Linked DNA regions of Homo sapiens: region 1 is linked to region 2. The links are contacts of gene promoters, found by promoter capture Hi-C in human tissues and cell types (Jung and others, 2019). All regions are on one chromosome and are shown on one strand. The core of a region is centred on a gene start or on the middle of the fragment in contact, and the rest is flanking DNA. Distances in the headings are between cores, read along the strand shown.

Region 1 (4,189 bases), core at 1,508-4,007, 73 kb before region 2:
AGATGTTTTAATTTATTGAGTTTAACTTATGATTTTCTATTTTATCCTATAAAAGTAAATTAATTACTTTTTGAATGTTAAACCAACTTTTCTGGAATAAAGTTCTCTTGGTTGCTGAATTCAATTGCTAATATTTTATTAGAATTACTAAATTTATATTTGTAAAGAATGTCAGATTTTTTTTTTCTTTCTAACAATATCTTACCAGGATTTGATATCAACATCATGCTTGTCTTATAAAATGGGTTATGAAGCACTTTTCTTTTTGCTGTTTTCTCGAATTGTTTTTAATATATTGGTGTTATTTCTTCCTTAAATATTTAGCAGAATTTACCAAAATGTCTTTCTTGATCTGAGATTTCATATCAGAATTATTTTTCATAGATTCAGTTTCTATAATCAATACAGATCTTTTCAGATTTTCTATTTCTTGTGTTAATTTTAGTAAATTTTGTTTTTCTAGCAGTTTGTCACTTCACTTAAATATTCAAATTTATTGACAGAAAGTTATTCATAATATCCTATTTATTTATTGAAGTCTGTTGAATCCGTAATGTGATTCCTTTTTATTTCTAGTATTGGTAATTTGTGCCTTTTCTCTCTCTTTTTAAAAAACTCAATGTTACTAGGGGCTTATAAATTTTATTAGATTTTTCAAAGAACCAACTTTTGACCTTGCTGATTAACTCTATTTTTTTATTTCATTAGTATCTGTTCTTATTTAACATGTTTCCTTTCTTCTTTTGGTTTAATTTGCTCTTATTCTATACTTTTTTGAGACTAATATTTCACTTACTTATTTTCAGTCTTTCTTATTTCTTAAAACATGCATTTAAGGCTATAGATTACTTTTGAATAGTGACTCTACATGTATCCCCCAAGATCTGACATGTTATATTTTTATTATTTCAGTCTAACATTTTTAAACATTTCCATTGAGATTCTTCCTTAATCCTGTGTTATGTCAAAGAGTACTTCTTAATTTCCATACATTTGGAGATTTTATGGGTTCTTTGTAACTAATTTCTGGCTTGATTCCACTGTGATCAGAGAACATATTCGGCTTGATTATAGTACAGCATATGGTCATTTTGGTAAGTGTTCCAAACACAAGTTGAGAATCATACATACTTTCTGCTTTTGTATATAGTTATTGGTTTCAAATTTTTATACCACTTTGTTCAAAATTTCTAATTTTTACTCAACTTTTGTCTGCTTCTCTATCAGTTACTGAGAGAGGTATGTTAAGGATCTCAATCTAAAATCTAATACTGTGGGTTTCTCTATCTTATTAGTTCTATTGATTTTTGCTTTACATATTTAAGCTTATCTTATTCTTTTTACATATTCTTGATGAAGTAACACTTTTATCATTATGAAATATTTCTTATCTTTGGTAATATGTTTTTGCATTACATTCTACTAATCTTATATGAATTTAGATATGCCAGCTTTAAAATATTTTATTATTTTGGTTAATATTTGTATGCCATCTTCTTCCATATTTTCAAACTTTCTATGCCTTTGTATTTGAAGTGTGTCTTCATTATGCAACATATAGTTGGGTTTCATCCTTATTTAGTCTTAAAATCTTTTTCTTTCAATTGGAATTTTTAGTTTATTTTTAATATATGTAATTACTGATTTTTTAACTTAAAGCTTTTATATTACTATTTTTCCATTTGTTTCATTTTTTCAATAGTCCTCTTTCTCTGTTTTTTCTATTTCTTGATTTCCTACAGGCTCCTGATAACAATAATTAGAAAAGCCAGATAAAATTCAAACAAACCGAAAGTATAGCCACTTGAATCATTAGCGAGTACCAAGGTATCCAAGTCATAAAGACCCAATATTCCAGAATAAAGAAAACTCACGTAGGTGTATATGATCTCTTCTGTAATTTTCCAAAAATTTCCCTTTAGTTCTTCAATGTAGATATTTTCTACTGACCCACCTTCCAAAACATGAATCTTCTGTACAGTTGTGTCAAATTTAATATTTAATCCACCTATTGAGTTCCTAGATTAAATGTTTATTTTTACATTCTAGATTTTCAACTTGATTGTTCTAATTGTTTAGCTTTATTTTACCATCATGTCTTCTATTTTATTAAACATGTTTTTAATAGTCATTTTAAAGCCCGTTTATGAAAACTCAGTTGTCTGGATCACTTTTAGATTTATTCCTATTGTTTATTTTCTGTTCTATTCTTTCTCTTTTGGAAGAAAAGAATAATTGTATGGCAGACATTGTGTATGAAATATTGACATCTTTCTCTATGAGTTTAGCTTGTGACAGTCAGAATAGGGAAAATTACCCTATTCCAATCAGGGATTAAACAGTTTTAAGGTTGTGTTTCAGACTTTGTAATGCTTGGTCTATTTGTGTTTTCTCTAATTCCTAGGTTGTGATTCTAAGGGATCCCAAATGAAAACTTGGGGTGTTTATCGCTGTCCGTCTTTCTTGAGAGGCCCTTAACTTCATTGAAAAATATCTTCCTAGCATTGTGAGACTGCCAAAAGCTTTGAACTTCTTGGCTCCCACTCTCTTCTAAGCTTCTCTTGTTCTAAGCTTCTCTTGAAGGACAAGCTTCTCTTGTTTCTTCTATGCTGTCGAAATCAGGAATCAGCAAATGCTTCAAGGGGAAAAGCTGCATATTTTCAGTCTCACATCTGCTTCCTTTCTCTTAGCTCCTCAACTCCTGGATATCTTAGTGGCCCTGAACTCCACCTTTTTTTCTCACTAGATCTTGAGATTGCTAAAAGCTGTCCTCTGTTTCTTAGCAGCCTGTTTTTCTCCTTTTCTCAGCTTCTTTGCCTGTACAATTTTGAGTCATCTCAGTTTCCTGTCTCCTAAGGATCTTGGCCCTTCAAGTTCTGGCTACCTTGGTAATCCTCTGTTGCCTTCAAATTTCTTTTTAATCTAATTATTCTAGTTGTTATTAGTGGGAGGTTTGGTCTGCTATAAATTAATCCCTGTCACAAATGGAATGCCTTTTTCCTTTTCTTTTTTTTTTCAGCTACATAGTATACCATTGTATAGCTATTCTAAAATTTCTTTATGCAGGACCTAGTTATGGATACTTAGGTTGTTTCCAATGTTTACTATTGCAAAGCATAAAGCAGTAACTTATATGTACATTATAAATTGTATAATTAATGGTAACTTCGTATGTACATAATTCTATGTGCATTATCTATACAGTTGCACACATATACAAATATATATAAAACAAAGTCTTAGAATAAAATTGCTTAATCAAAGGGAATGTTCATTTGTATTTTGATATACATTGCCTATTTTCCTTTGTAGAACTTATACCAATTTATATTCCAAAGATTATATGAACATGCCTATTTTCCCACAGCTTAACAACATACTGTGTTATTTTAATTTTGACATTTGTCAATGGTAGCTTAAGAAATGGTATCTCATTATAATTTTAATTTGCATTATTTCTATTGTGGGGGAGGTTGAACATTTTTCATGCAGTTAAAGCCTCAAGTTAACACACTGTTCTATAGATTTGTTGTAGATGACCAACATTTCACAGACTATATATCACGACATTCACATAAAATTTTCTGCAAAAATTATGTTGTATCATATATTTGCCCCTTTTGGCAATTCATAAAAAAGCCTCTGAGAAAAGAAATTCCTTGAAATGTTTTATTGTGGAAAAAATATATATATAACATAATTATCATCTTAACCAGTTGTAAGTATGTGATTTAGTAGCACTAAATACACTCACAACATTGTGTGGCTATCACCAGTATCCATACCCAAAATGTTTTCATCATCTGTAACGAAAACTCTATGTCCACTACTCCCTTTCCTTCCACCTCCCAGCCCCTGGTAACCTCTACTCTATTTCCTGTCTCTTTGAATTTGCCTGTTCTAGGTACATCATATAAGTATAATTTTACAATATTTATCCTGTGTCTGGCTTCTTGTACTATGCATGTTTTCAAGGACCATCCATGTTGTAGCATATATCAAAATTTCATTCATGTTTATGGCAGAATAATATACTATCATGCGCATATTCCCTTTATGTGTTGGTGGGCATTTGAATTGTTTCCACATTTTGCCCATTGTGAATAATGCTATGAACATCAGTGCACAAATGTGTTTGAGTCCCTGCTTTTAATTCTTTTGGATATACACCTAGGAGTGAAATTGGTGG
Region 2 (3,972 bases), core at 1,091-3,590:
GCACTGCACAGTAATGCATGCCGTAATTGTAATTTTTACCATAGTCCAAGGTTTCTTCTTGCTTCAGGGAAAATATCCCATTATAGTTAATTGGGGGAGGACTTAAGGGACCTTCAAACTGAGGGCTGGCACACTCAGGGGAAGTACTTTCATAGAAGGATTCATACGCACTGCAATAATTGTAGGGTTTCATGGACTTGGAATTATCAAGAGTCCCATGCCCTGGGGGAGTGGTGAGCTCAGGGCTGTGGTAGGGTGGGTAGAAGGTAGAGTAGGGTGACCTTGTGTGGTGTGCAGCCTCCCCACCCTGACCCATCAGGAAACTCCTGGCGTTGAGCTGCAAGCAGCCTGCCACCAAGTTTGTAGTTGGCTGGGAAAGACCTTTGCATAAGTTTTGGACGAATGTGAGCAGATCTGGTCTCTTGCCGATTCTCAGAATTTCAGAAAGTGCCCAGATGTAGTTTTTGGCCAGTCGTAAAGTCTCTATTTTGGACAGTTTCTGGGTTTTAGAATAACAGGGGACCACTTTTCTTAAGTTGTCCAGAGCGTCGTTGAGGCCGTGCATCCTGTTCCTCTCGCGCGCGTTCGCTTCCTGTCTCCTGAACTTGACCCTTTCCAATCGCAGCTTTGTTGTCTTTTTTTTCCTAAGACCCCTCCTTCTAGGCAACCCATTTTCATCTTCCTCTTCCCTGTCTTCCTCCTCTTCTTCTTTCTCGGTTTCTTCTCCAGGGGCCCTTTTGATGCTCTTTCCTCGAAGGACAATCTGTTTGGAAAAGCTTTCTGGCTTCTTAATTTGCTTCTGGTCCTCGCATTCTCTAGAAAACTTTCTGCACATCTGGGATTCTGGCATTACAACAGACTCATCAAACGGTAGTGTTAACATGGTTCTCTAATCTTAAATTACCTGAAAAAATGCCAGCACAATATTTAAAGAGTTTTCATTTTTAAAGTTTATACACTTAAAACATATTTAATTATTTAATCATAAGATTACAAAAACACGTGAAAAAGACTGATTCTGGGCCTGATTTTTTAACATTAAATATAATTTTGAGTTTGTGAAGATAAGTAATTATGAAGACATTGATGCATTCAATAGGATTATTTATATGAGCAAATTATCAAAAGAAAATAAAAATGAAACATATAATTATTGTGATATCATTACCATCTACATTTCTCTTTGCCTTTAAACTGGATTTTAATACCCCCAAAAAAGATTGTGGAATTCAAGCAAATGCAAAACATGAAATTGCAATGCAGAATTTCATTAATTCCAATTCCCCTGAGCACAAAATGAGAAGATAAACCAGTTTTTAAAATGGACTATCTCTCCATTAGCTGACAAATTTGTGTTCTTTTTTTAAAACAAACAAACAAACAAACAAAACCTTAACTTTATTTGCTGTATCACACAACTGTGAATTTAGATAAGTGGGTGTGGGAATATACAAATTTAAAGAAAAGATTATAATCAGAGTCAATTTTTCAACTGATTTTTTCTGATCAGTAAAGAATTATGTAAAAGGGCACTATTTTCCCAGGCTTCAAAAAGAAAAGGGGATTAGGCTAATTTGGAATAAACTCTATAAATAAATTTAAAACATAAAAATCACTAGCAATTTCTTTTAATTAAAAAAAATAGAGACTGATTTTATTTACATTTAAATTTTTTCCAAATAGAATTGTCTGTTTACTGCTGTTCAAATCATCCTGGACAAAAACCACTCTCGTAGTGTTTTTGTTCTACGAGCCATAGAAGTCTCCCTCTAGCTAATATCTGACAGGAACGGTCCAAGGATTCTGACTGCAATTGTGCACGTGTGTTCAGAATCCCAAATGAAAGGGGAAAATAATTTGTGTTTCAAATGCATTTTGGTTTTTGTCTGGTGAAGCAGCAAGTATTTTCATCTAAAGTCTTCAAACAAATAGGCACATTAAAGCAGAGACTTTTCAATTTAACAATCTCCAGCCCCCTCAACACACACATATACACACGAACACATACACAAACTCTTAGTAATGTCCACATACTTGCAGTGTTACATAATAGCAGTGAAAGTATGTGATAATTACATCATAAGAATGAAATATGATAAGTTATAGATGGCAAAGAGCATATAAATACTATAAGACAGTGACACTGTATCTTTAAATACTTGCATGCAAAGCCAGCATCAATTGAAGTATATCTTTATTTATATTACCTTAGGTTTTAATTTCATTCAATAATCAGTTTTCATTTTGGGTCTTCCAAATCTTTTCAGGCTGAGTGTCGCATCGTCTCCTGGAGTCTCTAGATCTGTGTATATCTGCACTATCTCATTGATCTCTAAAAAGTGACATTGATGCCAACTGCCAGAGCTGGTACCCATGCCATCTGCTAGTGACGTCACAGGGCAGAGAGAGCCATGTGATCCTCTCTCTTGGGACCTTCATTCTGCACTGATCATCTGGCATCCCTGTAAGTGGGTACCAGCCTTCATGCATCAACACAGAAGGTTAGACTGATAGGAAAAAAATCTGCACCAGCATTTCACGTACAGTAGGTGCATTTCTCCTCGAACTGCTTCGGTTTCACTGGCAATCTGTAGAAATAGCTGTGTTAGTGTTCAGTTTCGCCCTGCCAAAGGTGCAAGTATTAGGTGATCGTTAATATTCCATTCATTTACAAGGTGGGCTTTTGTGTGAGCAAGAGGTTTTTTTTGTTGTTGATGATGTTGTTTTGTAAAGATCACCATCCCATTTGTGCACCTGGGTACCCAGGGAAAGAAAGCCGTGAAAAGGAGCTGGAAACTGGTCTTAAGACGTTTAACCAAACTAAGATTTGTGTAAGTGAACAGGGGTCAAAAAAGGTCTCCTTTGCTTGTTTTGTTTCACAGCGTGTAACTTATGAGTGTGTGTCTCTGTGTTCTCTTATTAACATGTAAGACTTCTGTGCTTCTTAGGCATTTGGAATAAAAGAACAGCTTCTCCATCTGGGGTCTGTGAAAGACATCCTCAAATACTCCCCTTCCTACACTTGCTGGTATCTTTCACCAACTTTTGCAGAGACACTGCAAGTCCGTTGTTAAGGATTTCAAACTACATACTTTGTCCTCTGCAGAAAGTCACTAACTTCACTCTTTTATTGTCCCTTATCTCTTCCCAGCGTTAACTTGCTTGTTCCCTCTCATTTCATTTCAGACACAATAAACATAAAAATTATCACTTAGGTGTTTGTCTTCCTCTCCCTGACATTCTGCTGAGTATTTTAATCAAAGATTAGCTTTCCTGTTTTTGTTTTTTTTTCTTTTTTTTTGACTTTCAGATTTTTTTCTTTCTCTTAAAAATCTTGTCCTCACATTTTTCTCTAGACCAACATCAATTTAAATATCTTCTTGTTCTTGTATCAGTGTCCAGTTGTTTTTCCCTGTCAGGTGTATTTCAGATTTATCTTTTTTCCCCGCTCCACACTTTTGGTTTCTTCTTAACAAAAGCAGGGTGGAAACAGTTAAGCAAAGCTGGCAAAGCCTTATAGATAATACGAACTGTGGAGGCAGAGACAAACTCCACCTTCCTCCTGTTTTCTCTTCTCCCGTGCCCCCACCCCTATAAAGGACATTTGATTTCAGGATTGCCTGCCAGTAAAGTAAAAAGTGCACTTAAAAAAAATAAGTAAAAGTTTTAAAATAAACAAATAAACGCAACCTTTGTTGTTTGGCAACTGAGTAATCTCTTTCTATAAAGTGAGAGAGTATGCTTTTGGTATTAAAGTAATCCCTGCAGAGCTGTAACTGTTGAATCTGTGTTAGCATTCCCCTTATAAATCCCAGTTTTGCAAGGTTTAGAATTCTGCTGCTTTAATGCACTTTGGATCCAAATTGGCACCAAGGGCCTCACACTAAATTCAATTTTGCTTCTGTCATACCCCACTCATTTCCACCTTCTTCAAAAAGTTGCTTGACTTTTCCTGGACAGTTCTAGAAATGT

Evidence for each region. Contacts are between HindIII fragments. The study calls those that stand out against the background at their distance.
Region 1: a contact is called between a fragment that was not itself captured here and the fragment with the promoter of NEUROD6 in region 2, in 4 of the 25 tissues and cell types used here (bladder, dorsolateral prefrontal cortex, hippocampus and 1 more).

What each region holds. Positions count from the first base shown.
Region 1 is chr7:31,265,022-31,269,210 of GRCh38, forward strand. No RefSeq gene overlaps it. Among named protein-coding and RNA genes, the nearest start is that of NEUROD6, 74 kb to the right of the region's middle. The HindIII fragment of the contact is 4,282 bases long and covers 617-4,189 here.
Region 2 is chr7:31,338,386-31,342,357 of GRCh38, forward strand. It overlaps NEUROD6 (neuronal differentiation 6), which reads right to left and starts at 2,341. Exons shown (of 2, transcript NM_022728.4): 1 at 2,208-2,341; 2 at 1-904. The coding sequence starts at 883. The HindIII fragment of the contact is 16,561 bases long and covers 1-3,972 here.